Regions from separate parts of the Homo sapiens genome. Here region 1 is linked to region 2. The links are contacts of gene promoters, found by promoter capture Hi-C in blood cells and fetal thymus (Javierre and others, 2016). All regions are on one chromosome and are shown on one strand. The core of a region is centred on a gene start or on the middle of the fragment in contact, and the rest is flanking DNA. Distances in the headings are between cores, read along the strand shown.

Region 1 (2,750 bases), core at 33-2,532, 240 kb after region 2:
TCTTTTTAGAACCTTTTCCAACTCTAGGATTTGGTCAACTATGGACACTTACACATACACGAAAGTACAAAATAACTTTTTTTTTTTTTTTTTTGAGGCAGAGTCTCACTCTATTACTCAGGCTGGAGTGCAGTCGGTACGATCTTGGCTCACTGCAACCTCTGCCTTCTGGGTTCAAGTGATTCTCCTGCCTCAGCCTCCTGAGTAGCTGGGATTACAGGCACCTGCCACCACACCCAGCTAATTTTTGTATTTTTAGTAGAGACGGGGTTTCGCCATGTTGGCCAGCCTGGTTTCGAACTCCTAATCTCAGGTGATGTGCCCATCTTGGCCTCCCAAAGTGCTGGGATTACAGCAAAATAACTTTTAAGGGGTTAAAAAAAGCTTAGTTTCAATGAGACTTAATGTTAAAATAATTCATGGTTTTCTACTCCCAATTAAGCAAATGCTAATTTGTATGAAGTATGGCAATACCTTCAACGAATTCTTTTCTTATATTTTTCAGTTTCCTCCTCCTCCTGGAAACGTTTTCTACTCTGCCCAGCTCAAAAGCCACCCTCTCCTTTGCCAGCCTTTGCCCACCTGGGCCTCCTTCCCAGACACCTAGAGTTGGACATTCGTCACTCCTGCCCTCACACAGACCTCAGACCCTGGGAGGCATCACTGACCTCTTTCCTCAGATGTCCTCTGGGGTCAGCTTAGTGCTCCAGGACACAAAGGGGACTCAGCACCTGTTACTGAGTTGACTGTATGCATTTGCCATAGCTGACAGTACAGAAGGCTTATGAAAATAAAACCTGTTTTTCATGGCACAATAAACTAAGCATTTTTTAAAATAAGTAGGCCAGTAGGTCAAGAATTCTATAACTCAAAAAAATAAACTTACCCAAAGTAGCCTTAAGGCTCCATTAGAAATAGAGGCTGAATGATTATTATTATTATTATTATTATTATTATTTTTTTTTTTTTGAGACAGAGTCTCGCTCTGTTGCCAGGGTGGAGTGCAGTGGCTTGATCTCGGCTCACTGCAACCTCCACCTCCCGGGTTCAAGCGATTCTCCTGCCTCAGCTTCCCAAGTAGCTGGGACTACAGGCGTGCGCCACCACGCCCAGCTAATTTTTGTATTTTTAGTAGAGACGGGGTTTCACCATGTTGGCCAGGCTGGTCTCAATCCCTTGACCTCATGATCCGCCCGCCTCAGCCTCCCAAAGTGCTGGGATTACAGGCGTGAGCCACCGTGCCCCGCCGAGGCTGAGTAAGTTTGGCTCCCATATTATCATTTTGATTCAAGGAATATTAAATACAATCCAGATTTTTAGCTTCCTTGAAAACAGCAAAAGTTCAGCAACCCAGGACCTGCGTTTCTGCACAACAAGTTTTGGCTATAATCAGCTGGATTTGAGTAAGGTCGAGTTCCCACCACTCACGTGACCTCTGTCCATGCGGTTAGAGCTGTTTCCCTCATACTCACTGACCTTACCTGCAGGGATCCTGCGCCTCAATGTGCGCCTCAGAAGTCTAGATATACCCACAAACAACAAACGTGACAGCTGTTTTACTGCTCTGGAAGAACAAAAGCAAAACATACCGTGTGGATAAGCAATGCAGGAGGCACAGCCCTTAGAAAGAGCAGCAGCTGCCATAAGTCCAAAAAAACTTGTGGAATTTTTCTCAGTCCCATTTGCAGAAGAGGCTAATGGAGCTTCTTTCAGATACTTCTTTAAACTTTCATAAATAGCAAAGCAGATTATAGTTTCGGAAATTCCAGCATACGAGGCAGTTAATCCTCTATAGAAGCCACGAATGCCTTCGGTCTGGTAAACGTAACGAGCACACTGGAGTGTATTCATCTGCTTAGAGCCCCTCACTCTGCATAAAAGAGACCAACACAGGCTGTTAAGGAGACATATCATGGTGGAACACAGACATCACACAGTAGGAGAACAGGTACGGGTCTTCCTTATGGTGTTAGGATACTTGTTTCCTGGCTCCTAACTCTCATAGCCCTTGTCTTTCGTTATGTGGGGTGTGTGAGGCCGCAGGGGCAGCCTCTGACAGTCCCTTGATCTCCTTTCACCTGCCCCAAGGCCATCCTCTAATGTCCTTACCTTGTTGGTCTTACTCCATGAGAGTCCCCTCCTATCTCTGGGAGAAGGAATGCTGCTGACATGAAGCTTCCAGAAAAACCCAAGAGGACAGGGTTCAGGGAGCTTCCAGAGCTGATCGCATGGAGGCTCCTGGAGGGTGGCCCCCGGGGAGGGTATGAAAGCTCCACGCCCCTTACTCTGTACCTGGCCCTACCTGTCTCTTCTTCTGTATCCTTGCGATGTCCTCTATAACAAACCAGTAAACATTAAGTGTTTCCCTGAGTTCTGTGAGCCACTCCAGCACATTAATAGAATCCAAAGAGAGGGTCATGGGAACCCCAACTTGAAGCTGGTCGTTCAGAAGCTCTGGAGGCCCAGACATACAACTGGTGTGTGGGTAAGTGGGTGGGCGGGGGGTGGGCAGTCCTGGGGACTGAGCCCCCAATCTGTGGGGCTGTCTCCTGGTAGACAGTGTCGGAAGTGAATGAGAGGACACCCAGCTGGTGTCCGCTGTTTGGTGTGTGTGGGGAAAACCCCCTACACATTTGGTCACAGAAGTCATCTTCTGTGTCAATGACTGTTGTGGTGTGACAGTGGAGGAAAAACATGGTTTGAGGAGAGTTTTTCCCACATATCTTTGTACTGTTGTCAGCTGACCTCCA
Region 2 (2,700 bases), core at 145-2,644:
GCTCAGGGAGTTGGATTCCAGATTGCTTTTGAAGCCTTCCCCAGGTCACATCACACCGCTGTTCCCAGCCGTTCCAGGTCTTCCTGTTGACTGTAGGATCAAGTCCATTCCCCCAATCTGACCTCAGTCTACGTTTTTGGGCTCTTTGCCCACTAGTCTCCTAAATAAGTCCTCTGCGCCCCACAAACCAGTCTCCACCCAGCCTCCAGTGCTGCCAGCCTCCTCCACCCCCACCTGGAGCAGTGACATTCATGGATAGCTCCTCCAGCGGTCTCGAAAAATGAACATTTTAGGGTTCCACTTTTTGCTGTTGGTGTCCCCCTAATGCGAACATCCTGTCCTTGAGGGCTGATTCTTTTTACAATAGTTGTCCCAACGGGGGAAGTCATTTCACCTTTCTGACTTAGTTTCCTTATCTGCAAAATGGAGCCAGTAGTGTCTCATAGGGTACAGTGCCTGCACACACGCCCATCCACGGCTGTTCCAGGCCTTTCCTCCACTGCGGGGGGGTGCCAGGGGTCCAGAGGCGAGGAGGAGGGGGCCGCTGGACGCTGGGAAATTGGGAGGACCCCAAGATCCCTGTAGGGATCCACGGTAGAGGGGGAGGGCTTCTCTGTCCTCTCTATCCATTCGGACCTCCGCATTTCTAAGAACCAGCATCGCACCATGTCACTGAGAAAGAGCGCGCACACCAGCCGCCTTTTGAAAGTCACAAATAGATTCCTTCAGTGAATTCAGGACAGACTCCCCGGGGGCAGGTCCCGGGGCGGGAGCCGGTGTGGGTAGTGCTGCGCGGCCCTTAACTGTTTACCAGGCGCGTTTCGCTGACCTCGTCTCCTGGACCCCCTTTCGTGACCCCTCTCAACACCTCTACTGGGGAGACGAGGACCCCGAGGTTCTGGGGGGCGACGCGACCTGCCCGAAGTGACAAGGGTCCTGGGCCGCACTGCTCCGCCGGGGTCTGCGCTCCTCGGCGGAGCGGGTGGGAAGGATGAGTCCTCGGGGTGGAGAAGGAGGAGCGGGTCCCCGGGTACCGCTCACCCGGCCTTAGGAGCCCGGGAGCGCGCGTAGGGACGCGGAGTTGAGGCTCTCCATCTGCGGCCAGGGAAAGGGATACAGTCCCCCGGGCCCCTCCCGGCCGCTCGGAACCCACCCCAGGCGCGTCCCCGCGGGCGCGCGCTCCAGGCGGGGCCGACGGGCTCGGAGGCGCGCGCCCGCTGCCGGGTCCGCCGCGCGCGCTCCCTCCGCTCCTCTCCCCCGCCCCTCCCGGGCCCGCGCGCTCCCAGGGTCCGCCGCGCGCGCGCCTCGCGTCGCTCCCCATCCCCGCCCCTCCCGCCGCCACCCCGCCCCCGGCCGGGTACCCTCGCCGGACCCGAGAGAGAGCGCCGCCGCCATCTTAGTTGCTGCCGCTGCCTTCAGCAAGACGCTGCTCTGAGGCGGGGAGGGCGCCGCGTCCTGAGCGCGCGGCCCAGCGTCACGGCGGCGGCGGCGGCGGCTCCTCCTTGGACCCCCGGAGCTCCCCGCGCCGCGGAGCAGCTAGCCCCAGGCCCCTAGAGCCCCGAGAGCTCCGAGAGCTCCGCTCGGCGTCCCGCGCGCCTCCCTGCCGCTCCCGCCCCGGGCTGGCGATGCTGCGCCGCCCCGCTCCCGCGCTGGCCCCGGCCGCCCGGCTGCTGCTGGCCGGGCTGCTGTGCGGCGGCGGGGTCTGGGCCGCGCGAGGTAAGCCCCGGGGCTGGGCCGGGCCGCTGGGTCGGTGCGGGATTCGGGTCCGGGTGCAGGATTCGGGTCCCGGTGCGGGGATTCGGGTCCGGGTGCGGGAGTAGGGCCGGATGCCGGGATTCGAGCCGGGATGCGGGGAGTCGGGTCCGAGCGCAGGGAGCCGGGTCAGGGCGTGGGGTTCGGGTTGGGGGTCGGGCTCGCGGAGCCGGGGCCAGGGCGCAGGAGACTGTGGGCGCGCGCTGCAGGCGTCCCGGGGAAGCCAGGCTCCGTCCCGGGCGGGGCTCCTGAGCCTGGGCTGCCCCCACTGCAGCCCATGGTGGTGGCTGCGCTGATTTGGGGGAACGTGCAGACGGGCCGAAGGGTCAGTCCGCCCTGCTCAGCGGCGCACGCAGGCTGGGGCTGCACCCCTGGGTGAGATGCTCTGTGTACGTGTGCTCAGATGTGCATCAGGCGGGGGGTGCACGCACAGTTTTGGTGTGTGCTTACATAAGAGCCCACTCCTCCGCATCCCGTTTCCAAGATCCCGATTCTGTGTTGCTGCACCGCGGACACCACGACTTCGCCCCTTTCCGCCTCCTCCCAGAGTCCTTCAGACGTTGTCTGTTTCCAGTGGAGCCGAGGCTGAAACTTAGTGCTTCCCTCCCACCTTTTCACCCAAAGGTGAAATCGCGATGAGATTTGCGACCGCGGGCTCACCCAGTGTTAGAAATCTCCGTCTCTGCTACCCCTGGTGCCTTGGTGCTGTTTTTCTGACGGTCATTTAGACCGTGGAGGGTTAGATGTTCTCTACAAAAACGAGAAACCTCTCTGGTTTTTTAGGATTGTAGGACCGAAATTATTTTATGGCTCGGTGGGAAGTAGTATTTCTTGGCTAATTTATTATTAGCTTTTAACCTTCATCCACTTAACCTTTTAAACCTTGCATGCCTCTGCTATTGACTGGTCTTGCCAACGAAAAGCTTACGCATTGCAGATACAGTATTT

What was found. Contacts are between HindIII fragments. The CHiCAGO score rates a contact against its expected background, and 5 or more counts as called.
Region 1: a fragment that was not itself captured here is called in contact with the fragment with the promoter of CLSTN1 in region 2 in 2 of 17 cell types (non-activated CD4 T cells and activated CD4 T cells); the score reaches 5.8 in non-activated CD4 T cells.

The regions. Positions count from the first base shown.
Region 1 is chr1:9,579,074-9,581,823 of GRCh38, reverse strand. SLC25A33 (solute carrier family 25 member 33) reads right to left here. Exons shown (of 7, transcript NM_032315.3): 6 at 1,590-1,870. Among named protein-coding and RNA genes, the nearest start is that of TMEM201, 8.5 kb to the left of the region's middle. The HindIII fragment of the contact is 1,791 bases long and covers 387-2,177 here.
Region 2 is chr1:9,822,659-9,825,358 of GRCh38, reverse strand. It overlaps CLSTN1 (calsyntenin 1), which reads left to right and starts at 1,394. Exons shown (of 19, transcript NM_001009566.3): 1 at 1,394-1,716. The coding sequence starts at 1,626. RefSeq lists silencers at 1,133-1,192, 1,213-1,262, 1,433-1,582, 1,593-1,672 and an enhancer at 804-1,520. The HindIII fragment of the contact is 4,716 bases long and covers 1-2,677 here.